Linked DNA regions of Homo sapiens: regions 1, 2, 3 and 4 are each linked to region 5. Evidence: promoter capture Hi-C in 16 types of primary human blood cells and fetal thymus (Javierre and others, 2016). All regions are on one chromosome and are shown on one strand. Each heading gives the region's core, a stretch centred on a gene start or on the middle of the fragment in contact. The rest is flanking DNA. Distances are from core to core; before and after follow the strand shown.

Evidence for each region. The method cuts DNA at HindIII sites, captures the fragments that hold promoters and counts their contacts. A CHiCAGO score of 5 or more calls a contact.
Region 1: the fragment with the promoter of CKS2 here is called in contact with the fragment with the promoter of DAPK1 in region 5 in 1 of 17 cell types (fetal thymus); the score reaches 12.0 in fetal thymus.
Region 2: a contact is called between a fragment that was not itself captured here and the fragment with the promoter of DAPK1 in region 5, in 3 of 17 cell types (M0 macrophages, M1 macrophages and megakaryocytes). The highest score is 10.9, in M0 macrophages.
Region 3: a fragment that was not itself captured here is called in contact with the fragment with the promoter of DAPK1 in region 5 in 6 of 17 cell types (M1 macrophages, M0 macrophages, megakaryocytes and 3 more); the score reaches 9.2 in M1 macrophages.
Region 4: a contact is called between a fragment that was not itself captured here and the fragment with the promoter of DAPK1 in region 5, in 1 of 17 cell types (M1 macrophages). The highest score is 6.2, in M1 macrophages.

What each region holds. Positions count from the first base shown.
Region 1 is chr9:89,309,873-89,315,556 of GRCh38, reverse strand. CKS2 (CDC28 protein kinase regulatory subunit 2) reads right to left here and starts at 4,362. Exons shown (of 3, transcript NM_001827.3): 1 at 4,206-4,362; 2 at 260-387. The coding sequence starts at 4,264. MIR3153 (microRNA 3153) reads right to left here and starts at 3,332; the gene lies at 3,251-3,332. It overlaps LOC105376136 (a long non-coding RNA gene), which reads left to right and starts at 4,755. Exons shown (of 3, transcript XR_930101.4): 1 at 4,755-5,684. RefSeq lists enhancers at 3,807-3,856, 4,527-4,816 and a silencer at 4,827-5,056. The HindIII fragment of the contact is 1,703 bases long and covers 3,610-5,312 here.
Region 2 is chr9:86,406,336-86,411,338 of GRCh38, reverse strand. No RefSeq gene overlaps it. Among named protein-coding and RNA genes, the nearest start is that of TUT7, 54 kb to the right of the region's middle. RefSeq lists an enhancer at 534-1,131. The HindIII fragment of the contact is 4,518 bases long and covers 1-3,881 here.
Region 3 is chr9:86,387,309-86,392,679 of GRCh38, reverse strand. No RefSeq gene overlaps it. Among named protein-coding and RNA genes, the nearest start is that of TUT7, 36 kb to the right of the region's middle. The HindIII fragment of the contact is 939 bases long and covers 2,132-3,070 here.
Region 4 is chr9:86,370,020-86,375,119 of GRCh38, reverse strand. It overlaps the pseudogene RPS6P13. Among named protein-coding and RNA genes, the nearest start is that of TUT7, 18 kb to the right of the region's middle. The HindIII fragment of the contact is 1,847 bases long and covers 2,303-4,149 here.
Region 5 is chr9:87,494,239-87,499,940 of GRCh38, reverse strand. It overlaps DAPK1 (death associated protein kinase 1), which reads right to left and starts at 2,074. Exons shown (of 26, transcript NM_004938.4): 1 at 1,834-2,074; 2 at 802-971. The coding sequence starts at 863. RefSeq lists silencers at 1,116-1,225, 1,436-1,625, 1,996-2,345, 2,366-2,425 and an enhancer at 968-1,725. The HindIII fragment of the contact is 10,886 bases long and covers 1-5,702 here.

The sequences.
Region 1 (5,684 bases), core at 3,113-5,612, 1.8 Mb before region 5:
TACATTTTTTTTTTTTTTTTTTTACTTCTTACATTATTTTCCAAGTAGAATAATGTGTTACTTTCACTGCTGTGGTATTTTATTTACCATAAAATTGGAACTCTCTCCAGAGTCAAGAAATTAGTCATTAAAAAAAAAAACTTATCAGAACAGTTACTTTCAGATATCATTTGATGTCAATGATATTTTTAAAATTTTGACAACCATAACCACCAATATTTCAACAATTACTGCTTTACTATAACATAGCATAGCTTACCTGGCTCATGAATCATGTAATGAACCCAGCCTAGACTCTGTTGGACACCAAGTCTCCTCCACTCCTCTTCAGACATCAGATGAGTTTTAGGTACTTGTTTGGAAAGTTCTCTGGGTAACATAACATGCCTGTTACAAGATACAGCCAAGTGTTAGTCCAGTGCCTTTTCTACAACTGTCGCTTTATACATGTACCTTAAGGAACTCTGTTGCTTTAATATTGAGAACTGCAATCTACTACCTTTAATTCTGATATGATGGCCTATGTTCAAATTAGGGAGCTAAGAGTGCACAATCCAAAAGCAGAAAGCATTTTCCATAGGATTAATCTTTTTCTCTTATCACAGAATGCTTACCAGTTGCCTTAATCTTCTTCAGGAAGAGAACCCCAAAATATAAGTTGAACATATGGTTACCAGCCTCCAAATCATAAGCCAACAAGATATAAGAAAATGTGTAACTTATTATGAAAAGTGTTCTCAAAGGGAAAGAACATGCTGAACTCTTTTTCTCCTTCTTGTTGAATGCACATTAATATGATCAGGGAGCCAGAGCAGGAATCTAGGACCATAGAAGCAACTGTAAATTGAGAACGGTAAAGCAACAAGAGGTAAGGACCCAGCCTAGTCCTTGACTGTAAAGCTGTTATCCCTGCCCCAGATTATTAGACTTTTATGTAACGAAAAAATCTAAGTTACAGTTAATTTGGGTTTCCTCTTACTCAACACTAGCTTTGTAGTAGCTACTAGTCCTTGTATGCTCCAGAAGTTGCTTTATACTTCAAGTACTTTGTTCAAAATTAAAAACAGAAAACCACTAACTGTACATACACATTGTGTGCAACCTCACCGTTTTCCAGTTAATTTACTGACCTATATCCAAAACTTACATTGTTCAGTTTCTTAGGCAAGCATGGAATAACCTTCAAAGTTAAACCATCAATATGTATAATTGTAGCCTTACGAGATTCTCAAAAACAAATCTGTATCATTAACAGTATCCCAAAGCATTCTATCAAAGATTTGCCTAACAAATCTCTTTCCCCAAATTGAGTAAGAATTTTTACTCAATTACCATAAAAAGGACTTTATGAAAGTCACAATTCTCAGCTCCATGTTTACCACCTGCAGTAGTAGCAACAGTTTTATACTGAACCATCCATAACCACCAACCCAAATTTTTAACCAGTATAAGATATCTGTCTGTGAGTCAGCTGGCTGGGGATGAATGAGGTGCAATCTGGTCACTTTCTGAGACACAGTAAACTGAATCCCTAACCCGCTATAAGCACCCAGCTGTCATCAACTTAAATTTTAGTCTGTGGTTAAGTACCAATTTATTTGCAGGGCAAAGTGAGCCTCAGAAAAATTCTACTGTGTTGTTAGATTGCCTTAAGGCCACCAAGTCATAGCTTACTACCATAATTTGTAGAGTTTTCATCAATTCCAGTGAACTATATAGTGATTCTTTGTAATTCTTACCAGTTATCACCCACATTCTTGAAATGCTGCTTTAACATCTAACTTCAAATAATCTGTTATCTTATTTCTACGTTCTATCTTGTTGATTATTCTCAAAGAGAAATGTAGTGCTTTTGTACCTTTTCTATCAAACTTACAGAGTACATAAATCTACCAACAAGTTATTTAGATAGAAGTTACCACCCTTCTCCATAAACACGGAAACAGGCTCTCCTCCATCAGGGTTTCTTTATAAAGGAAAAATGTTTAAGTAGCATCAACCCCATATGAGGATTCTACCTGTATTTTGCCACACAGAGATTTCAAACTAACTACATGTAAGGAAAATTATTTCCAAAATCTAACGTTTATTTCAGTTGAAATGCAAAATAGTGCAAGTATTACTAATTTGTAAGGCTGCCCAGAAAAATTAACAGTTTTTCTCTTGTGAAAACAGACTTCCATGATGTGGGGGTGGGGGCACCCACTGTTATGCCCTTAGAAACATTAAGACCCTCACGTAAAAGGACTAGGAAATTAAGTTTGTAATTAAGAAAAATCAAAGAAAGATAGAGATAACTGCACACTGGGAAAAATAAATACTAGCCTTTGAAATTTACATTGCATGCTGCACCATTACATATTAATACAAACCACCCTAGACTCATGCCTTAGTGCTATATTATTACTAGTTTCCCCTTTAAAATTATGTGTGGAAATTACTATCCTGTTTCATAAAGGTTACTGGCTTGGCCAATTAATACCAGCTCTAATTTTTATTGGATTAAAATACATCACTTCAGATATGTAAACTTTCTTCTATACATTACCACACACAAATCATTTGAGTATATTAAAACTAAAAAATCGACCTACTGCCATCAGAAAGAAGTCTGAGAAATAGCTTCATTTATTTTCAATATTATACCCTAAAAGAAACTTGTACCGACCCTTAAATCCTTATCCTAAACACTTGGCACCAGATGTGTTTCAGAATAATTTTCTAGGTTTTAGTAAGATTATTACGGTTTACATTGTGTTCATTATTGGATATCCTCAATAGGGCTCTTGATTAACATCGCATAATTGAACACTGCCAGCATATTACACGAGTATAGTTTATTATTACTATAAGGTTAACACAATCTACTTGAAATTTACCTACAGCCAGAAAAACATGCTATTTTTCTAGCTAGGAATACAAAAGGGTGCAATTACTACTACCCATAGAAATATTCAGTAGTCCTCATGTGAAAACAGACTTCCATGCTACTAGGGAGGGGGAGAAAAAGAGAAACCACCCACTGTTTTGTTCTTTCTTCCTTAAATAGCATTCGGAGAAATCTAACCTACAAAGGCAGCAGACAGAAAACAAGGTCACAATTTGGCCAACGATGGCATGGGCTTTATCTCCCCTAAATCTTGGTAGTATCCCAGAACGCAGCGTTCTAGTCGCTACCTAGTTAAGAAAAAGGGGTTGACTGTTTTCTGAAGCCACGCCCTAAATGAAGTGTCCCGCATACAGTAAGGACAACAAATTTTAAATGTCCCTACTCGCTTTCCCCCAATCTACTTTAATTGGGGGGAAGGGGACAGGGACATTTAAAATTTGTCTAATTTTACTGATCGATTACAGCCACCATGTTCTAGTACGGTGCTTCAGGACTCAAACGCAAAAGTTTCTCAAAGCCCAAAATTTGGCCAGTGTATACTAGCAGAAAATGATGCCCAAAGTCCACTCAAGTTCTTAATCGGCCTTAAAATGAAACTCCTTTAATAATACCCTCAATTGTATGACTGCGGCTAACCTATAATGGCCCAAATCACCATACCCAGTAAACATTTTCGAATCCCCATCAAGCTCATTTTTCGGGGGGTCGCCTCCAAAGCTTATTCTTATACCACTCACTTCAAAAACAAGAAAAAGAAAAGTGTTCCTCTGTGTTAACAGATGAAAATGACCATTTGACCATTCTAAACCACAAACTAGTAAAAGCTGCATCACCCCGTCAGCGACAGGGAAAGTGTGTCACGGTTGCTAAAGGAAAAAGGACGGCACCAGGTGGGTTTTCCTGGACTGGTTCAAAGAACTGGAACTGAGACCAGCTACTGAACGGCCTAATTACTTCGGCCACGGCCGAGAAAAAAGTGACGGGATGGTCACTCCGCGTCGCCGAGGACCCCATGACCCCCAAGTTGCGCCGGTTCCTACCCAGGTACTAAATGCGGCCCGGTGGGCACTCTTCCCTCACCCTCCGCGCACACCGAACAAAGGCCCAACCGGCCCGGCGCGGCCAGGCACCCAACCATGTCCGACTGCGCGGGGCGCCAGGTGGCCGCGACCCCAAACCCCGGCCCTCGCCCTCCGGCCCCGGGCTCCGCCCCCCAGGCCCCGGCCCCCACCCCCGACCCTACTATGCCTGGGTCGCCCCGCCCGCGGGGGCCCCGGCTGAGGGAGCCGGCTCGGGGTCTAAGAAAGGCGCCCACCGGTACTCGTAGTGTTCGTCGAAGTACTTGTCCGAGTAGTAGATCTGCTTGTGGGCCATCCTGCTGGCGCGCTGCAGAAAATGAAACGAGAGCGCGAAGAGCGGGCGCAGCAGACAAAACCACGTCCAGCCCAGGCAACAACTCGCCGGAGACTAACGACCGCAGTCCCAACGATCCGGATTTGAATCCGACAGCCCGCCGCCGATTGGACAGCAGCGCCGACCAATCACCTTCTGCGGAAGTCGGCCGGCTGCCAGCCTATCGTCGCCGCCGCCTCGCAAAGTCCGCTTCCTGGGTCAGCCAATCAGAGATCTGTTGCGAGGTTGCCCGAGGGAAGATAGGTACGTCACGGGGGTGGCAGGGCCCTTAACGGGCAGGGGCGTGGCCAGAGGAGGGCGAAGTCGGGACGTTAAGGGCCGCAGAGCGCGTGCGCAGGAACGTGGAAAGTTCCAGGACACGGAACCGTTGGGACGGAGGACCTGAAGGTGGAGTGAGGTATCACGGGGTTTGGTGATGACGTAGTCGGTCGAGGCCGGAAGCGTGGGCCACAGGGCTTTGAGCGGAAGCTGTCGACCTTGCACGGTGATGGCGCTCCTCGTGATCCCTTGTATCCCCTCAGGCTCGAGCCAGGAGCCTAGGTCCACTTTGAAAAGTAGTAAAAGGCAGAAAGGTTCTGCGGTGTGAGGGGGAGGGCGGCTTCGTGGTCGGCTGGGTCGGGGGAGCGCCGGGCGGCCGCGGCGTGGCTGTGTCCGGGGCTGCCCTGCGCAGCCGGCCGTTTCGCCGCCTGGTGCACTTGCTGAGCTTCCGGCCTGGCCCGTCGCGGGGCTCCTGGCGCCCCCCTAGACGACTGTGTGGAGAATGGAGCCTGCGGAGCCACGCGTAGAGAGAGGCCCGGAGCCGGCGCGGTGGCGGCGGGCGCCAGTGGTCCCAGCCACTCGGGAGGCCGAGGTGGAGTGTCGCTTGAGCCCAGGAGTTCCAGACAGGCCTGAGCAACAGAGCCAGACCCCGTCTCCACAAAGAAAGAAACAAATGGGCCAGAGACCCAGAATGCTTTCTGTAGCCTAACCTAATGTTCAAAACCAGGGCAGACCCAAGCCATGGAAAGCTTGAGGGAATAAAATAATATTCTGCTGCGGCCAAGAATAACAATGCTAATTCCTGGATAAGGGGATTTAAAATGATGTTTAACAACTTCTGGTCTTTTAATATTGACCCAAGTTTAAAAACATGTTCATATAAAAAAGTTACTGGAAGAAATTTATAAATGTAACTGGTGGTTATTTTTAGATGACAGAATTAAAAGTGATCTTTTTGGTATTTTTTCCACAACGAGCACGTGTCATTTTTATGTTAATTTCATTTTATGCGAAATGCTCCAGCGCAGTACAGGCTAGTGGGTTCAGGGTGGCTGTGACTAAGTAATGTAGATGGGGTACCTTAGACAAAGTTTCCAGACTAGAGGCTGGAAGTAAGAGGTCC
Region 2 (5,003 bases), core at 373-2,872, 1.1 Mb after region 5:
AAGCAGTTGTAAAGGTTGTTTTGTTTCCTTCTATTTAATATCTAGTTAAAATCTCCTATTTCCTTACATTTTCCTCCTTGTAAATTATACTAAATGTCTTTTCAATCCTTGGCTAAAACAGATAAACTGATAACTTGGAATTTTCTACTCACAGTATAATGAAGAACTCTAAAGAACTCATTTAAAAAATTGGGAATAAGAAGATTACATGAGATGATATCAAAATCTTTACAGGGGGCTATAAAAAGGAAAAGTTTAAGGAAGACAGGTTCCCATCTGAAATTGGAAAAATATCTTTGTGAGGCATTAGAGGAATCTCAGTTCACTACATAAAAATCAAGAAGAGTTTTTCTCCAGTATGAATGGGTGAGTTTGCTTTGGATGGAGATATCAAGGCTGATGTGAAAACCTGGCCCATGAAGCATGCTTATAAAATGATGATGCTGATTCCACACTTGGCCCACACAAGATTGTCTCGGTAGCCTGATGCTAACATTGCTTTCAGATTATACATCATAATTTTTCAAGCACCCACATCTTGGTTACCTAATTTGGTCCTCCTGAAATGCCTATAGTGTAGATGAGACCAGGATTGTCCTTGACTGTACTGTTTTGTGGCTTTTGAGTAGGGAAGCTGGACTCATCTTGTTTTCCTCTCCATCTTAGCCTCCCAGTGTCATGGACATGGTAGCTATGCCAGCACAGGTCCAGGGGTCTCTCCCGCCTTCCCCCAGACCACTGCACATCCTGGGGCACGTTTTACACCACTGCAAATCCTAGGAGGTGAATGTGGCCGGGGCCCTAATCTCAGCTGGAGGCTTCTAGCAGGTTTGATGGAAACAGCTTGCAGCTCTGAGCACAGCTTGATCACCATCTGTGCCCATCAGCAAGTTAAATAAACTCCCTGGGCTTCACATTCCTCTTTTGTAAAATGAGCACATAGATTTGCATGATCTTTAAGGCAGTGGATTCCAGAAGATGAGTCCATGGATCAGTTTGAAAAAAAAAAAAATTAATTGGCCGGGTGATGTGGCTCACGCCTGTAATCCCAGCACTCTGGGAGGCCAAAGCGGGTGGATCACGAGGTCAGGAGATCGAGACCATCCTGGCTAATGCTGTGAAACCCTGTCTCTACTAAAAATACAAAAAATTAGCTGCACGTGGTCGCGGGCGCCTGTAGTCCCAGCTACTCAAGAGGCTGAGGCAGGAGAATGGCGTGAACCCGGGAGGCAGAGCTTGCAGTGAGCCAAGATCGCGCCACTGCACTCCAGCCTGGGCGACAGAGCGAGACTCCATCTCAAAGAAAAAAAGAATTAATTTTGGGAATTCACATGGGCTTGCCAACTCTTTGTTGTTTGAAATACATTAAAGGGCCAGGAGTGGTGGCTCATGTCTGTAATCCCTGCACTTTGGGAGGCCGAGGTTGGCAGATCACTTGAGGTCAGGAGTTCAAGACCAGCATGGCCAACAGGGTGAAACCCCATCTCTACTAAAAATACAAAAATGAGCTGGGCATGGTGGCGGGCACCTGAAATCCCAGCTACTCAGGAGGCTGAGGCAGGAGAATTGCTTGAACCCGGGAAATGGAGGTGGCAGTGAGCCAAGATTGCACCAGTGTACTCCAGCCTGGGCTACAGAGCAAGACTCCATCTCAAAAAAAAAGAAAAAGAAAAAAAGAAATACATTAAAGATAACAACTCTGATCATCCCTCCTCCCACGCTGGTTCCAACCAGTGGAGAATTGACACTGAGATCCAGATGAAGATCAAAAAAAAACAACTTTATTAGTGGATTGGTCAAGTGCCTAATGCCTGCAGAGTAACAGAGGGTCTCTTAAGGCAGACTAAGGAGACACTAGCTGGCATCTCTCCATCAGTGAGATTTCATAAACACACCTGAAGCCAGTGGGCAGAGTAATCTCAGAGCAGTGCCCCTTCCACCTCCACAAAGCTGAGCCCTACTCCCATCCCATGCTTCTCCTTGTGTCTGCTTCTGGGATCTGTAAAATGGGCAGCTCAGCTATTGCCCCAGAAGGCTCTGAAATCAGTAAGGACAGAATTAAGATAACTTTGCTGGGCATGATGGTATATGCCTGTAGTCCTAGCTACTCAGGAGGCTGAGGTGGGAAGATCACTTGAGCCCTGGAGTTCGAGACCAGCTGGGGCAACATAGCAAGACTCTGTCTCTAAAAACATAAAATGAAATAAAATAAAATGGAAAAAAAGAAAGAAGAAAACTTCAAGACTGCACACACTGAAAGCCAAAATTCATTGCTTTTTAAATTTTCCATCTCCAATTATATTCCACCTAATACCCAACATAACTCATGACATTTTATAATAAACACCACATGAAAGTCTAAAATGTTCCAAATAAGGCAAAGCCAACCACACAAAAATGCCCAAATTTACATAAACTCACATCAGTGATTACAGTTTCAAAGAGAGGTTGAAGTCTAAAGATGAAATCCTTTGACTTTGGTAAATTAAAGGCTGAAGACATTAAGGTTCAACATTTTCTCTCACTTGATTTGGGGTATAGTAGAAACTTCTCAAGAACATAATCCTGACAGCAAAACTGTCTCTTTCGTAAGTGCTACAGACAGAGGATTGTAGGATCCCACCAGCACAAAAGGCACTTTCAAGAGCAAGCCAATAGTTTGAGGTACAATCCACAAGCGAGCTTCCAATGGGAGGGATCTTAAGGGAGCAGCCACTGAAATAGTGCCCAGGGACTGGGTAGGCACCCCATACCTCTTTCTTGGTTGCAATAGCTGTTTCTCAGCAGAGATACAGAATTTACCCTGGGCCTCTGTGCACTCTCCAGCTCTGTGCTCAGGAAGATGCTAGAATTGCCCACAAAACTTTAGGCCATTCCCAGAACTATTCATATTAATGTGGCAGGTACTGGCTACCATGCTGAGGGTTTGTCTCAAATCCCTTAGAGAACAAACAGTTAAATACATGCAATAGAATATGACTCAGTCTTAAAAAGGGAGGACATTCTGACACATGCTACAACATTGATGAACCCTGAGGACTTAGGCTAAGCGAAATAAGCCAGATACAGAAAGATAAATACTGCACAATTCCACTTACATGAGGAATCTGGAGCAGTTAAATTCATAGAGAAGTCTGGGTGCAGTGGTATTCACCTATAACCCTAGCACCTTGGGAGGCAGAGGCAGGCAGATTGCTCAAGCTCAGGAGTTTGAGACCAGCCTGGGTGACATGGTAAGACCTCACCTCTACAAAAAATACAAAAATTTAGCTGGGCATAGTGGCACATGCCTATAGTCCCTGCTACTTAGAAGGCTAAGATGAGAAGATCACTTGTGGCCAGAGGTTGAGGGTGCGGTGAGCCAAGATCGTGCCACTGCACTCCAGCCTGGGCAAAAGAGTGAAACCTGTCTCAAAAAAAAAACAAAAAAATCATAAAGACATGCAGAATGGTTGTCAGGAACTGGGAGGAGATGAGAATGGGGAGTTATTGTTTAATGGGCATAGAGTTTCAGTTTGGATAGTAGCAATGATAGCATAACAATGTGAATGTACTTAATGCCATTAAACTGTGGATTTAAAAATGATTAACGTGGTAAATTTTATGTTATGTGTATTTTACCAGCATTTAACACTTTAATCTTCAATAAAAAAAAAATCCTTCTTAGCCCAGCTGTGGAATTAAGAACACTTATGATTCTTTGGATAACTCTAAGCTATCCAATGCTGGCAGGTTGCAATGAAATTCAAGGCTTCTTGAGGCTCTTTTAGTGAATACCGCAGCTTACCCAGCACCCCCCTGCATTCCCCATGTTGATCCATGGAGGAAAGATCTTCCTCCCCGCACACTTCTACCTCTAGACCAATGCGGGGAGGAAAGCTTCCACTCCACTTCCCTGCCATCCAAAAGGAAGAGAAGTACTGAATCTGATGAGTGAGGGCTGGCATCACAGTGCATGGTTCCCCAGTGGGCAAGGTACAGAGTCAGTGTTACCTGTAAATGTCTTTATCTTTGTGTAGCCAGCAAGCTGAGCAGGGCTGACCTCAGCAAATCTGTAATTCACTTTCTGCTCCACCCCCTCTGCCCGTGACCAGGAATGAGTCAGAAGGACCTTGTAGAAGGGACCTGTCTGAATCTGGTTTCAGGGGAGAAAGTAGAAGGCTGCCCTCAGGCCTGCCAACTAAAAGTCCATATCGCAGCTTCACGAGAGCTGGCCTGGAAGCAGGGCTTAACTAGGTCAAAAATGGGACTTTGATTCCCATCTGGATGTCAGTTTCTTGAGGTGCTTCTCCTCTGGCAGAAAAGGGGGCAGAAATGAGAGGGTAAAGGAGAATGGTCTTATTCCCCTAAAATCACCATGAAATGGTCTTTTAAAAATAAGAAAAGTAGGACACATGTTCTAAAGAAAAAAAATTTTTTCAACTGAACACATTTAGCTTTATACAAAGCTCACCTTGTTTCTTTGTCTCTCATTTTGTCCAAATTGTTAATTTCATAATTATCACTAGTCCATGAACCTGCATTTGAGAAATCTTTGAGAAGCATTCCTCTGAAGTACGTTTTTGCTCTCAAAGTCTGTGACATAAATAACTATCACTTCTGCTTCCATCACCCCTCCCAGAACCCGTCATTGAAAGAAGACTAGAGCAGAAACTACGGTTTAGTGCCTTACAGAATGCTTTGTACAAATAAATACTCAACAAATTTTTAAAATACAGCCTGCCCCCTGTGTCGGGGTGACTCAGGAACCCATCTGACCTAAAGTTCCATCTGTTTTTCTGAATCCAGAGTCCAGACACTCACGTGCAGATGAAAAAAAGTATCAGGAGTGGCACATTCCTGAGCCACACTGCACCAAAGATGATTTCACAATAGGTACCAGGTTTACTTTTGTTTCATGAGTCTGCCTGCAAATTCAAGTTTCTCTGGTTCATCTCCTTTGCATTAGTATGTGTTAATTAAAGTGAAATTAGCACGTCTTCCTGAAGCTCTGGCCCTCATTG
Region 3 (5,371 bases), core at 1,352-3,851, 1.1 Mb after region 5:
TGCTGAGAAGAAAGTATATTCTGTTGATTTGGGGTGGAGAGTTCTGTAGATGTCTATTAGGTCCACTTGGTCCAGAGCTGAGTTCAAGTCCTGGATATCCTTGTTAACCTCCTGTCTCATTGATCTGTCTAATACTGACAGTGGGTGTTAAATTCTCCCATTATTATTGTGTGGGAGTCTAAGTCTGTTTGTAGGTCTCTAAGGACTTGCTTTATGAATCTGGGTGCTCCTGTATTGGGTGATATATATTTAGGATAGTTAGGTCTTCTTGGTGAATTGATCCCTTTACCATTATGTAATGGCCTTCTTTGTCACATTTCATCTTTATTGGCTTAAAGTCTGTTTTATCAGAGACTAGGATTGCAACCCCTGCTTTTTTTTGCTCACTTGCTTAGTAGATCTTCCTCCATCCCTTTATTTTGAGCCTATGTGCATCTTTGCACGTGAGATGGGTCTCCTGAATACAGCACACTGATGGGTCTTGACTCTATCCAATTTGCCAGTCTGTGTCTTTTAATTGGGACATTTAGCCCATTTACATTTAAGGTTAATGTTGTTATGTTTGAATCTGATCCTGTCATTATGATGTTAGCTGGTTATTTTGCTCGTTAGTTGATGCAGTTTCTTCCCAACATCGATGGTCTTTACCATTTGGCTTGTTTTGCAGTGGCTGGTACCAGTTGTTCCTTTCCATGTTTAGTGCTTCCTTCATGAGCTCTTGTAAGGCAGGCCTGGTGGTGACAAAATCTCTCAGCATTTGCTTGTCTGTAAAGGATTTTATTTCTCCTTCACTTATGAAGCTTAGTTTGGCTGGATATGAGATTCTGGGTTGAAAATTCTTTTCTTTAAAAATGTTGAATATTGGCCCCCACTTTCTTCTGGCTTGTAAGGTTTTTGTTGAGCGATCCACTGTTAGTCTGATGGGCTTGCCTTTGTAGGTAACCTGCCCTTTCTTTCTGGCTGCCCTTAACATCTTTTCCTTCATTTCAACATTGGTGAATCTGACAATTATGTGTCTTGGGGTTGCTCTTCTCAAGGAGTATCTTTGTGTGTTCTCTGTGTTTCCTGAAATTGAATGTTGCCCACCTTGCTAGGTTGGGGAAGTTCTCCTGGACAATATCCTGAAGAGTGTTTTCTAACTTGGTTCCATTCTCCCTATCACTTTCTGGTATACCAATCAACGTATATTTGATCTTTTCACATAGTCCCATATTTCTTGGAGGCTTTGTTTATTTCTTTTCACTCCTTTTTCTCTAATCTTGTCTTCTCACTTTATTTCATTAATTTGATCTTCAATCACTGATATCCTTTCTTCCACTTGATCAAATCGGCTATTGAAGCTTGTGCATGCGTCACGAAGTTCTCATGCCATGGTTTTCAGCTCCATCAGGTCATTTAAGGTCTTCTCTACACCGTTTATTCTTGTTAGCCATTCATCTAACCTTTTTTCAAGGTTTTTAGCTTCCTTGCGATGGGTTAGAACATGCTCCTTTAGCTTAGAGAAGTTTGTTATTACTGACCTTCTGAAGCCTACTTCTGTCAACTCGTCAAACTCATTCTCCATCCAGTTTTGTTCCCTTGCTGGCGAGGAGCTGCAATCTTTTGGAGGAGAAGACTCCTCCAAAACACAGAGAAAACTCTGTGTTTTGGAATTTTCAGCTTTTCTGCTCTGGTTTCTCCCCAACTTTGTAGTTTTATCTACCTTTGGTCTTTGATGTTGGTGACCTACAGATGGGGTTTTGGTGTGGATGTCCTTTTTGTTGATGTTGATGCTATTCCTTTCTGTTTGTTAGTTTTCCTTCTAACAGTCAGGCCCCTCAACTGCAGGTCTGTTGGAGTTTACTGGAGGTCCACTCCAGACCCTGTTTGCCTGGGTATAGCCAGCGGAGGCTGCAGAACTGAAAATATTGCTGCCTGATCCTTCCTCTGGAAGCTTCGTCCCAGAGGGGCACCTGCCTGTTTGACATGTCTGTCAGCCCCTACCGGGAGGTATTTCCCAGTCACGCTACACAGGGGTTAGGGACCTGCTTGAGGAGGCAGTCTGTCCATTCTCAGAGTTCGAACACCATGCAGAGAGAACCACTGCTCTCTTCAGAGCTGTCAGACAGGGATGTTTAAGTCTGCAGAAGCTTTCTCTACTGCCTTTTGATGTACTAGTCCCTGTTCCCATAGGGGGAATCTATAGAGGCAGTAGGCCTTGCTGAGCTGTGGTGGGCTCTGCCCAGTTTGTGCTTCCTGTCACTTTGTTTACACTGTGAGCTACTCAAGCCTCAGCAATGGCAGATGCCCCTCCCCACTGGTCAAGCTGCCGCATCACAAGTCAACCTTAGACTGCCATTCTAGCAGTGAGCAAGGCTTCGTGGGCGTGGGACCTGCCAAGCCAGGCACAGGAGGGTATCTCCTGGTCTGCCGGTTGCTAAGACTGTGGGAAAAGTGCAGTATTTGGTCTGGAGTGTACCATTTCTCCAGGTACAGTCTGTCACAGCTTCCCTTGGCTAGGAAGGGGAAATCCCCTGACCCCTTGTGCTTCCTGGGTGAGGTGACCCCACCCTGCTTCAGCTAATCCTCCATGGGCTGCACCCACTCTCCAACCAGTCCCAGTGAAATGAACCAGGTACCTCAGTTGGAAATGGAAAAATCACCCTTCTTCCGCGTCGATCTCGCTGGGAGCTGCAGACCAGAGCTGTTCCTATTTGGCCACCTTGGAAGTGACCAAAAAAAAAAAAACGGTAGCTTTTTTGATACATTTGGCAACCATGCAGTTAGAGCAGCACAGCACAAGGACTAATTATGTTACACTCTTAATTTCCCTCTTATGACTCAACCCCCTCCTTTTTTGGCCTTCTTTTTCCAGTTCCTCTTATTTTTCTTAATGTCCAAATGTTAGACAGCATCACTGTTAAATCCTGAGCATTTTCTCATCTCTGTCTTAGACCTAGTACTTCCTAAAGTTCAGTCAGATAATTATCAACTTCATGATTTTTGCCATCTCTGGATAATTATTTACTTATTAATAATTTTCTGTAAATAAATTTGACTTTAAAAAATTTATACATTTTAAAAGAAAGCTTTATATCACAACTCTAATTTAAAATCCAGTTTCAAAAATAGAAGATAAATCTAAACATAAAAACAAAAACCACAAAATATATAATTTAACTTTTTACTTAAATTTCAAATAATCAATAAGAACAAATCATTATAAATACAAAAATTTATAAAAATGCACACCCTAATGAGAAAAATTGAAAAAATTGAATTGTTCATGATTAATTAAAAACAATAATGTTTGGCTTCATGTTCTTTGACTCTTGCTTACAGTTAAGGAAACCAAAGCCCACGAGGGAAAACAACTTGCCCAAGATCAAAGCAAAATGGAGGCAGAGCTGGAACCATGGTCTTGAGACTACTGAGTCCCAGTTGCAGATGGTGATCACACAATCCAGAAAGGAACAGTAGCTCTTTGAGGTATGAGGATTCAGTCAGGTGACAGGAGCTTGGCGCATGGCGTAGTAAAAAAATATATAAACGTTGAAGTCAGAAAGACCTTGGTGAAGTCTCACATAGACCAGTAAAATCATATTGCCATCTGCCTGTGATTCTACCTCTTTAAGCCTTTGTTTTCTTTTCTTTTCTTTTTTTTTTTTTTGAGACAGAGTCTCACTCTGTCACCCAGGCTGGCGTGCGGTGGCACAATCTCAAGTCACTATGACCTCCACCTCCTGGGTTCAAGCAATTCTCCTGTCTCAGACTCCTGAGTAGCTAGGACTACAGGCACCCACCACCACGCCTGGCTAATTTTTGTACTTTTAGTAGAGATGGGGTTTCACCATATTGTTTAGGCTGGTCTCAAACTCCTGACTTCAGGTGATCTGCCCACCTCGGCCTCCCAAAGTGCTGAGATTACAATTGTGAGCCACCGCACCCGGTCTAAGCCTTCATTTTCTAGTATAACTCACAAATTGTATAATTTTGAGAAGACTATCAGACATATATACTTAGTTTTCAGCCCAGTGGTTATCCAATCAGTAGAAATTTCTTTCCATCCTCCCCTGTCTTTATCACCCACACAGCTCAGATCTGCCCAACACCAGCTCTATTTCCTTTTGAAGGAGATACAGATTCTCTAAAGAATCTGTATTTCTTTCCATCATATCTCTGTGTCCAGGGCTAGGAGAGGGACCTCCATCTGTGCACAGCTGATTGATAAGGTGGGAGGCAGCAGTTTCTTGGCCTCTGCTGCAGGGTGAGTCTTTAAAGATGAAGATAGCCTAGAGATGCGTCTGAAAGCCAGAGGATAGCCCCAGCTTTGAGCAGTGATGGGTGATCTACAGGCTCTGTGGAAGTAGCCCTGTGGCCCAAGAATGGACTCAGCTTCCAGATCTAGTGAATTCTCGGAGACGTTTAGAAAAGTCTAACCCTGGGCAAGCCCTGAGGTCCAGTCCATGGTTAGCAAGAAGTCTATAGCATTTGATGAGTGTGGAGAGAAGAGAGCTATTCCCATGGAGACAGTTTGAAAGGCATAGCTGTGGGATCTAAGAAACAGCTGGGAGTTGGGTATTCAATGTCCACAGAAAAAAACATGGCTGAGACTTAGAAGTGGGGAGAGGAGGGAAAGACAGGGTGGCTGGTCTCCATGGCAACAGGAAGGAAAGCAGAACTTCCACCAATCACTTTGGGGGTGAGATTAGTTGAGGGCAAATTGTAAAGCAGGTGACCCATGCCCAGCATGGAATCGGGGGAAGTAGATCACTTAATGGAAACGTAGGATGGTTTCAGCATTGTAAAAATAACAGCAGGGAATGGTCAAAAAGGGAAAGCCAAAATTGGAACTTTCAGGCATACTTGAGATTTATGTGTTCTTGGAAGGAATCCAGGTGTGTCTGGATTCTTTATGGTGCCATGGAAGACAAGTGGCAAAGTAGCCAAGAGATTACCACACCTAGGGTGAAAGGGTGGACCACGCATTCTGAAAGTGGGCCTGAAAGTGCAGGGTGGGTCAAAAGGAGCAAACCACTGGAGATGAACTAAGGCAAGAGAACGTGCCATTAGTTCATGAGTCTTAAACCTCAGGATCAGATATCAACAAGATGGCTAAGGAGAGAGACTGGAAAGACCAGAAAAGCAAGAGAGCTTCCCAACGAACCTATGGATATGTATTTAAGGACTCTTTTTACCAATCATACAATTGTAGCTCATCTCATCCTCAGAGGGCATCCAAGGGGAGTGAAGAAGGAAATCTGAACAATGAGGCATCTATCCAAAAAAGGTGGAACCAGAGAAGACATCATTTAAATTTGAAAAGATTGAGATAAACTAACTGGTAAGTTCAAGATTTGTTTCCATAGTTCCTAGAGGCCAGTAGGGTGCC
Region 4 (5,100 bases), core at 1,977-4,476, 1.1 Mb after region 5:
TAAGAAAAATAAGGAAGAGGCTGCAGAATACACTAAACTTTTGGCCAAGAGCATGAAGGAGGCTAAAGAGAAGCCCCAGAAACAAATTGCCAAGAGATGCAGACTTTCCTCTCTGTGAGTTTCTGCTTCCAAGCCTGAATCCAGTCAGAAATAAGATTTTTTGAGTAACAAATAAGATCAGACTCACATCTCTCTTGACTTTTCATTGATGATAGACAACTACATAAATGAAGAGAGGGAAACTTAGGTCATAGAAAATGGGGATATGTATATAGTAATCCAGTCATGGATAAAATCAGACTGACTATTGTGTGGTAGAAGAAGACAAGATCATAATAAAGGGATTCTTTTGGGTGGATGGGTGGTGCAGGAAGGGATTCTGAGCATAAGACATCTGCCTCTTCAGAAAGGCATGGAACTTAGGGGAAATAAATGAAGAGGACTTTTAATCTTTTTTATATAGTTTATTTTGAGGAATATAGCTCTTTAAAACACTATACACAGTTTAATACATGAAAATTGCCCTTGGGAAGATTAACAGTGTTTTTTTAGAAAAGCTAACTTTTAAGGCATAGTTTCAGTGGATAGCATCTTAAAATACTTCAGGAAGTTTTGTAAACCAGTGCAAATTTGCTTTAACAAAGCTTTTCAACTCAAAAACAAAAGAAAGAAAGAAAGAGAGAAAGAGAAAGAAAGAAAGGCAATGTATCAAAATTTGGCTGCATGCAGTGACTCATGCCTGTAATCCCAGCACTTTGGGAGGCTGAGGCAGGTGGATCACGAGGTTAGGAGTTCAAGACCAGCCTGGCCAACATGGTGAAACCCCCATCTCTACCAAAAATACAAAAAAAAAAAATTAGCCAGGTGTGGTGGCAGACACCTGTAATCCCAGCTACTTGGGAGGCTAAGGCAGGAGAATTGCTTGAACCTGGGAGGTGGAGGTTGCAGTAAGCCAAGATCATGCCACTGCACTCTAGCCTGGGTGACAGAGCAAGACTCCATCTCAAAACAAACAAAACAAAACAAAACAAAAAACAAAAAAAAATCTTATGGGACACAACAAAAGCAGTATTAAGAGGCAAGTTTATAGCAATAATGCCTACATCTAAAAACTAGAAAGATTTCTAAGATTTCTAATAACGTAATGGCACCTCAAGGAACTAGAAAAGCAAGAACTCAAAATTAGTAGAAGGAAAGAAATAACCAAACCCAAAATTAGTAGAAGGAAAGAAATAATAAGAACAGAGCAGAAATAAACAAAATGGAGACTTAAAAAAAAACACAAAAGATAAATGAAACAAAAATTTGGTTTTTGAAAAGATAAACAAAATAAAAAAACCATTAGCTAGACTAAGAAAAAAAGAGAGAAGATCCAAATAAATAAAATCAAAAGCCAGAAATGAAGATATCACAATGGATACCATAGAAATATAAAGACTCATTAGTGACAACTATGCACAATGATGTGCCAATAAATGAGAAAGCCTGGAGGAAATGGATAAATTCCTGGACACATGCAACCTACTGAGAAGAAATAGAAAACCTGAACAAATCAATAACAAGTGATGAGATTGAATCACTAATAAAAAGTGCTTCAACAAAGAAAAGTCCAGGACCAGATGGCTTCACTGCTGAGTTCTACCAAACCTTTAAAGAATTTTTTTTTTGAAACAGAGTCTTGCTCTGTTGCCCAGGCCTGAGTGCAATGGTGTGATCCCAGCTCACTACAATCTGCCTCTCAGATTCAAGTGATTCTCCTGTCTCAGCTTCCCGAGTAGCTGGGACTACAGACGCATGCCACCACACCCAGCTTATTTTTGTATTTTTGGTAGAGATGGGGTTTTGCCATGTTGGCCAGCCTGGTCTCGAATTCCTGACCTCAGGTGATCCACCCTCCTCAGCTTCCCAAAGTGCTAGGATTACAGGTGTGAGCCACTGCACCCGGCCAAATCTTTAAATGATTAATACCAATTTTTCTCATACTTCAAAATGTTGAAGCAGAGAGAATTCTTCTTAACTCATTCTATGAGGCCAGCATGACTCCAGTTCCAGAATCAACACAATAAACAAAGAAAACTACAGGCCAGTGTCTCTGATGAACACAGACGCAAACATCTTCAACAAAATACTAGCAAACAAAATCCAATAACATATCAAAAAGATAATAAGCAGTGATCACACGGAATGTATTCCAGGAAAGTAAAAATGGTTCAACATATGCATATTAATAAATGTTATATATTGCATCAATAGAATTAAGGACAAAAAGCTTATTATCATCTCAATAGATGCAGAACAAGCTTCTGATAAAACACAACATCCCTTCAAGATGAAAACCCTTAATAAATTAGGTATAGAAAGAAAGTACCTCAGCATAATGAAGGCTATGTAAGACAACCCTCAGCTAACATCTCACTGAATAGGGAAAAGCTAAAAGATTTTCCTCTAAGAATTGGAACAAGACAAAGTTGCCAGCCGGGCATAGTGGCTCACACCTGTAATCTCAGCACTTTGGGAGGCTGAGGCAGGCAGATCACTTGAGCCCAGGAGTTCAAGACCAGCCTGGCCAACATGGCAAAACCCTGTCTCTACTAAAAATACAAAAAATTAGCCAGGTGTGGTGGCGCATCTGTAGTCCCAGCTCCTTGGGAGGCTGAGGCATAAGAATTGCTTGAACCTGGGAGGCAGAGGTTGCAGTGAGCCAAGATTGGGCCACTGCACTCCAGCCTGGGAGTAGATTGAGACTCTATCTCAAAAAAAAAAAAAAAAGGCAAGGTTGCTCACTTTCATCACTCCTATTCAACATAGTACTGGAACTCCTAGCCAGAGCAATCAGGCAAGAAATAAAGGGCATCCAAATGGGAAAGGAGAAAGTCAAATTGTTCCTGTTTGCAGACAACATGATTTTACATATAGAAAAACCTAAAGATGCTACCAAAAAACTTAGCACTGGTAAACAAATTTAGTACAGTTGTAAGATAAAAAACTAATATACAAAAATCAATGGTGCTCCTATATATGAACAATTAAATAGCTGATAAGGAAATCAAGAAGGCAATCCCATTTATGACAGCTATAAAATGAAATAAAATACCTAAGTATAAATTTAACCAAGGAAGCAAAAGACCTCTATGAGGAATACAAAGCACTGATTAAAGAAATTGAAGAGGATACCAAAAAAATGGAAAGACAGCCAGGTGCAGTGGCTCCCTCCTGTAATCCCAGCACTTTGGTAGGCTGAGGCAGGCAGAACACTTGAATCCAGGAGTTCCAGACCAGTCTGGACAACACAGTAAGAACCCATCTCACAAAAACTACAAAAATTAGCTAGGCACGACAGCACATGTCTGTAGTCCCAGCTACTGGAGAAGCTGAAGTGGGAGGATCTCTTGAGCCCAGGAGGGAGAGATTGCAGTGAGCCAAGATTGCACCACTGCACTCCAGCCTCCAGCCTGGGTGACAGAGTGGGACCCCATCTCAAAAAGAAAAAAAGGAAAGATGTCTCAAGCTCATGGACTGAAATAATTAATATTCTTAAAATGACAATACTCTCCCCTAGTAATCTACAGATTAAGTGCAATTGCTATTAAAATAACAATGACCTTCTTCACAGAAATAGAAAAAAAATCCTAAAATTTGTGTGGAACCACAAAAGACCCCAAGTATCCAAAGCAATCCTGAGCAAAAGAAAAAAGCTGGAGTCATCACACTACCAGAACTCAAAATATACTACAAACCTGGAGTAATCAAAACGCATGATACTGGCATGAAACAGACACATAGACCAATAGAACAAAATAGAGAACCCCAAAAGTAGTCCACATATCTACAGCCAACTGATTTTTAACAGAGGTGCCAAGAACACTCATGGGGGAAGGGACAGTCTCTCTAAAAAATGTGTCTAGATAAACTAGATATGCATATAGAGAAGAATGAAACTAGACCCCCACCTCTCACCCTATACAAAAATCTACTGAACATGGATCAAAGACCCAAATGTCAAACCCAAAACAATAATACTGCTAGAAGAAAACATAGAGAAAATGCTTCAGGACATTGGTCTGGGAGAAGATTTTATGAATCAGACCTCAAAAGTATAGGGAAAAAAAGCAAAAATAAGCAAATAGAATTATATCAAACTAAAAAGCTTCTGCACAGCAAAGGAAACAATCAACAGAGTGAAAAGACAACCTACAGAATGAGAGAAAAGATGTGCACACTACTCATCTGACAGGAGATTAATATGCAGAATATACAAAGAACTGAAACATCACAACAGCAAAATAACAAAGAATCTGATTTTAAAATGGGCAAATAATAGAAATAGAAACTTCTCAGAAGAAGATATACAAATGGTCAAATCCAACAAATATATGAAAAATGCTCAATATCACCAGTCATCAGGGAAATGCAAATCAAAACCACAGTGAGGTATTATCTCACCCCAGTTAGGATGACAATTTCAAAAAGACAAAAAACAACAAATGCTGGTGAGGATGCAGAGAAAAGGGAATTTTTCTTTCTTTCTTTCTTTTTTTTTTTTTTTTTAGAGATGGAGTCTCGCTGTGTTGCCCCGGATGGTCTCGAACTCCTGGGCTCAAGTGATCCTCCTGCCTCAACCTCCCAAAGTGCTGGGATTATAGGCATGAGCCACCGCACTTGGCCAAGAAAAGGGAGCTTGTATACACTGTTGGTGAGAATGCAACCCTTACAGCCACTATGGAGAACAGTATGGAGCTCCCTTTAAAAATGACAAATAGGAATGGGCACAGTGCCTCACACCTGTAATCCCAGAACTTTGAGAAGCCGAGGTGGGTGGATCACCTGAGGTCAGGAGTTTGAGATCAGCCTGGCCAACATGGTGAAACCCCGTTTCTACCAAAAATACAAAAATTAGCTGGGCATAGTGATGTGTGCCTGTAATCCCAGCTACTTGAGAGGCTGAGGCAGGATAATCACTTGAACCCAGGAGGCAGAGGTTGCAGGGAGCTGAGATGGCGCCATTGCACTCCAGCTTGGGTGACAAGAGGGAAATTCCGTCTCAAAAAAAAATAAATAGAACTACTGTATGATCCAGCAATCCTACTACTGGGAAGTTAT
Region 5 (5,702 bases), core at 825-3,324:
TATGTATGAAAACTAGGTTTTCTACTAAAGTTGACCAGAGCCCAAAACACTCTGTCTAATACACAGTCAAAGGAAACAGCAATCAGCCCTTAGATGCCCCGAAAGAAACTATTCTTTGTTTACCTAGAAACTGAAAGATTTTACACTGAGAATCACAGCTGCTACAGCAATGGAGGTATGCTCTGAATCCAGATAGCCATATTAGACTCTCATTGATTTGTTAAAAATTTAACATTGTAAATGAAACCAAAGCAACCACCAACACCAACCAGGTAATTAAATTCCTGGTTGGAAGAAGTTTCAAAATCCAAGCCCAATGTCAACATCTGGCAAGTCTCCATTTACCACCTACCAATACTTGCTCAAATTACACTGAAAATTTAGATAGAGGGTAAAGTACTAAGATTTTTAAAACCTATTAATTAGTTTGTACCCTCCGTTTAAATCACACATAAAAGCTAACTCCAATTGCAATTATAATCTTAGTGTTTGTCCTGTTGTCACAGAAGGGCAAGGGCTGACAAGAGTTAGCACGGACAATTAAATCTGATTTTGTCCAGGGGACTGGATCAATATACTGTGCATCATAATCTAGCCCTGAACTGCTGCCTCTCCTCCACCCCCAGGCCCTTGGATCAGGCGGTTTACCGCTGGGTTAGTAACTCTTTTCTCTATGATTTGCGCATCTCCAGAAAGGGCGAGGGAGACGCCTGATTCAAACTGCATTTGTTTACCACCCAATGGCCCCATCGTTATGCATTTCCACAATCCAGGAGGGTACGCTTCTGGTACCCCCTTTACCTGCCAAGTTCCTCGCCGGTGTCGTAGTAATCATCCACGTTTTCCTGCCTGAACACGGTCATGATAAACTGTCACGCCTCACCAAAGCCCAGGGCACTTCAGCTCCGCTTCCCAGACCATCACCACCGCTCCTGCGCCTCCGTAGCCCCCTCATGCATCAGTCTCCAGTCCTTTTGAAGAAAAAAAAAAGGCAATAATAATAGTAAAATGGCAACCCCAAAAGGAAGTAGACCTCCCCGGCGCTAAGACCCCGCTCGCTGAAGACCGGGTCTCCGGAGCTGCCCCTCCTCGCGGGGTGGAGAGGAGCACCCTTTGTTAAAGCTGGGCGGCCAGGGACGCCCCCGACCCCTCAGCCCCGCGCGCGCGTGGGGCCGGGCACCACGGCACCCCGAGGTCGGCGTCCCCAAACGCTGGGCGGTCTGTTGGGATCAGAACCGGCTCCGGAAGTGACTGGCCTCCCCGCCTCCCCTTTCTCTGCACACATGCCCACCCAGCTTTCCCACCTCCAGGGACGCCGCGGAAGAATGAAGCCCTCGCCCAGACGGTACGCGCCTCACTGGGAGCAATCTCTCTCCAGCCTGCGGCAACGGTGGCACCCCCGCGCCACCTCTCGGCTCCCGCGCCTCTCCTAACACCGTGGCCACCCTCTCCCCTTCCCCGAGCGAGGCAGTCCCCAGAGCCACATTCCTGGCGACTCCCTCTCCGTTACCCGGCCGACCCGGCGTGCGGCCGCCCGGGGGAGCAAGGGAGGGAAGGGAGCGGCCCACCGAGGCGCAGCAGTTCGCTCCAGATCCTCGCGCCCCGACACAAAGCGCCTGGTCGGGCCGGCGCCACCTGTTCTCACCCGGCCCGCGGGGCTGGGGAAGCCTCCCGGCTGCGATCGCACTTCTCCCCGAAGCCAAGTTTCCCTCCGCCTTGGCCTTCCCAGTTGCTCGAGGCACTGCCCGGACAAACCCCACCGCGCCCTGGCTGGGAAAGCAAAAGCTGGCGCCGGGGGTCGGGGGGACCGGGGAGCCGCGCCTGGCTACTCACCCGGGCGCCTGGGAGCTCCCCCGGTCCCTCCGGAGCGCTGTCGGAGGCCGACCATAGGCGCCAGCGCCGGAGACTAGCCGGGGCGGCGGCGGGAACACAGCTAGGGAGTGAGTGGGGGGCGCAGATCCCTCCCAGGCGCCGGCCCCAGACCCTGCCGCTGCGAGTTGCCGAGTCCCCTCCGCGGAGGGAACAAAGTCCCCGGCGTTGGCTCGGTCCGGCTGTCCTCCTCACACTCCGAAGCAGCCTCTCGGCTCCTTGCCGCCTTTTGGGCGGAGGGCGGCCGGCAGGCGGCCAATGGGGACCCTGCAAGCGGGCTGGCGGCGCGGCCCACCCACCTCCGAGCTGCCCTGCCAGGCCGGCGCTGCGGGTTCTGCGCGGCGCTCGCTGCTCCTCCCAGCTCCGCGCTCCGGGCTCGCTGGCGCGCTCTACCGCGCACACCCCGCACACACCCACTCGCCCCACACCCACGCCGGCCGGGGAGCCAGTGCGTCCGCCCGGAACGCGGGCGCCCCACCTGTGACACATTGCTAAGCTGCCCTCTGACTGGGTTCTAGGGAAACACGGTTCTTCCGTCCCGAGATGTGTACTGGGATCCCAGCTTGTGCCGGGCACGGTGCTTGGTATGGGAAAATCACATAGAACAAAACAGATTTTTTTAAATCCCTGCCTTCCGGAAACCTGCATTCTGGTGGGACAGATAGATAATAAATATGTAAGCTAATTAATAAGGTAATTTTGGAGGATCAGTCCTACGTTTACCACGAAACAGGTTAATGGAATAGAGAATGGCAGGAAGGGAGCGTACCTCATTAGACTGGGTTCCTCTGCCGGACTGGTGTTGGAGCCGAGGCTTGAAGGCAAGAAGGTTTGCAATCTGAAGAAAGGGTTGAGGTCTCCGAGACCCAAAGAAGCAACAGAGACGCAGAGTTTATTTGCGCTATCCCATATGCTATTGGCTATTGTTGAGCTGAAATGTAGCTAGTCCCAAATTAATTGTGCTGTAAGTGTAAAATACACATTAGAGTCCAAGACAGTATGGATATGAGAATGAAAAATATCTCATGAATATTTTTATATTCATTACACTTTCAAATGATAGTATTTTGGATACGTTGGGTTAAACAAAATATATTATTAAAATTAATTTCACCTGTTTACTTTCTTTTTTTTGAGACGGAGTCTCACTCTGTCGCCAGGCTGGAGTGTAGTGGAGCGTGGCAACCTCCACCTCCAGGGTTCAAGTGATTCTCCTGCCTCGGCCTCCCCAGTAGCTAGGACTACAGTCGCGCGTCACCATGCCCAGCTAATTTTTGTATTTTTAGTAGAGACGGGGTTTCACCGTGTCGACCAGGATGGTCTCCATCTCTTGACCTCGTGATCCGCCCGCCTGGGCCTCCCAAAGTGCTGGGATTACAGGCGTGAGCCACCGCGCCCGGCCTCACCTGTTTACTTTTTAAAAGGTGGCCACTAGAAAATATAACAGTACCTATGTTGCTTGCATGAGATTTCTGAGGACTGTGCTGGTCTACACAAAGATCCCATATCCACTGGAGACCTCTATCCACTTTCTCTACTTCCCACCCCTTGCTCCCACCTAATGTTTGGGTGGAGACGAAGAAGGGTTGATTCCCCACATCCCACTGCTGGAGAACCCCAAACGGTGAAAAGCTCCTAAAGGGAAATCTATTTTACTGCCTAGAATGATGAAAACTGACAGATGAAGAGATTTCCGATCCATACCGTTGTTCAAATCCCCAGGCTTTCTAAACTGAGTTGGTTCAAATCTCTGTGGTTCAACAGAAATTTTCAACTGTGAAGATTTTGGCCTCTTGAAAACAAGGCAAAACAAAACAAAAGAATACCCCTCAGGCCTTATGTCAAATCCTAGTCTTTTTTTTTTTTTTGAGACGGGTTTTCGCTCTTGTGGCCCAGACTGGAGTGCAGTTGTGAAATCTTGGCTCACTGCAAACTCCGCCTCCGCCTCCCGGGTTCAAGCGATTCTCCTGCCTCAGGCTACCCAGTAGCTGGGATTACAGGCATGTGACTATGCCCGGCTAATTTTGTATTTTTAGTAGAGACGTGGTTTCACCATGTTGGTCAGGCTGGTCTTGAACTCCTGACCTCAGGTGATCCTCCCGGCTCGGCCTCCCACAGTGCTGGGATTACAGGCGTGAGCCACTGCGCCCAGCCAAATCCTAGTCTTAAATAACATTGCATTAATGACCCACAGGAAGGGCACACAGGAATCAAGGGGAAGTCCCCAAATTGGGAGATGGTATTAGCTTAAGCAGTGGGCTTGATAATACAAAAGGGTCTTGAGAGGTGAGAAATACAGTCAAAAATAACAACAACAACAAAAAAAGAGTGATTCATCTGGGAAAATGCAAATGAATACATCTGTTGGGAGAAAAAATTTAAAACACAGATGTTTGGGATAAACTTGGAAGGTGTTTATGGATGACTGCCATATGGGTAATATTTATTTTCTGCAAAATAAAAAATATATTGTCCGAGGCAATTAAAAGGACTGAATCTATTTGGCAGCTAGAATGTCTTAACTACCCTAATGGACAATGATGTTCACCGGAGATTATCTGGAGTAGTGAAAAAGAGCATGAAATTTGGAGTCACAAAATTAGATCTAGTATTGGTGGAACCATTTAACAGCTTAATAACCTTGGATGAGTCACTAACCCCCGAGCTTTTTGTGTACACCAATTTAGACAAGCATTTTAGAAAGGGGAAATGTGGTCATTTAAAAACATATTCACAAATTCTTTGACACTCCCCCAATCAAGAGGTGGAGTCTAATTCCCCTCTCAATAAATATTCACCAACCCTATCTGCTTGCTTCTAAGAAAAGGTAGTGGCAGTGGCACAGTGTAATTTATTTCCAAGGTTAGGTCATAAGGCATTAGAGCTTCTGCCTGCTTGCTTCTCTTTCTCTCTCTCTCTCTCTCTCTCTCTTTCCCTCCCTCCCTCTCCCCCTCCACCCACTCTAAAGCCTTCAGCTGTCATGATTACCCTAGGGCTGCCATGTAGAGACATGTGACAAAACCACAGAAAGAACGAGAGATGCCCAGAGAAGCCAGCTGTCCAGCCCCACCCTCACTCCCAGTTGTTTATATCTTCCAGTTCAAGTTCTGTGAGCAAAATCAATGACTTTTAATGTTTTAAGTCATTATTTCAGAGTGGTTTGTTATGTAGCAATAGATTATCTTCTTAAAAAGAAAAATTAAGAAAACTTTTCTCTTAACACATACCAGGTTCCAGACAGATGAAATAATTCTCTCAATTAATCTTTAAATAAATTAGCGGGGTTTTTATTTAATAAATAAATAAATAAATAAGTGGTTATTTCCACTTTACATGTAAACGTCTCAGTTTCATCACCTGTGAAATGAAGATGATTATAGACCCTTACATATTCCTTGGGTTTGTTGGGAGAATCTAAAGAGATAATGCATGAAACAGGACTTTGTACATTATAAAATACACCAGAATGTTGGATATTTTATTTTCTATCATGTCCCTAGCAAAAAGGACTCAGAGAGGCATCTCACACATAGAAGGCAACAATATAAGAAGCCACAAATTATGAGATGCCAGTTGAGAAGGACTTCTATAAAAATAATTATGATATGGACTATGGATTATAATAATGATGGCGATAATATTTTAAACAAACCCGACTGTAGATTTTAGAACATTATTTTACAGTCGTATTAGGGTAAAATAACCATTGCTATAAGACCCAACAAATCCCAGAGGTTTAACACATTAAAAATGTGTTACTTGCTCTCAGCACAAAGGTTTGCAGGGCATAAGCAGAGATCAGCTCCACAGTAGTCATTCAGAAACCCAGGTTT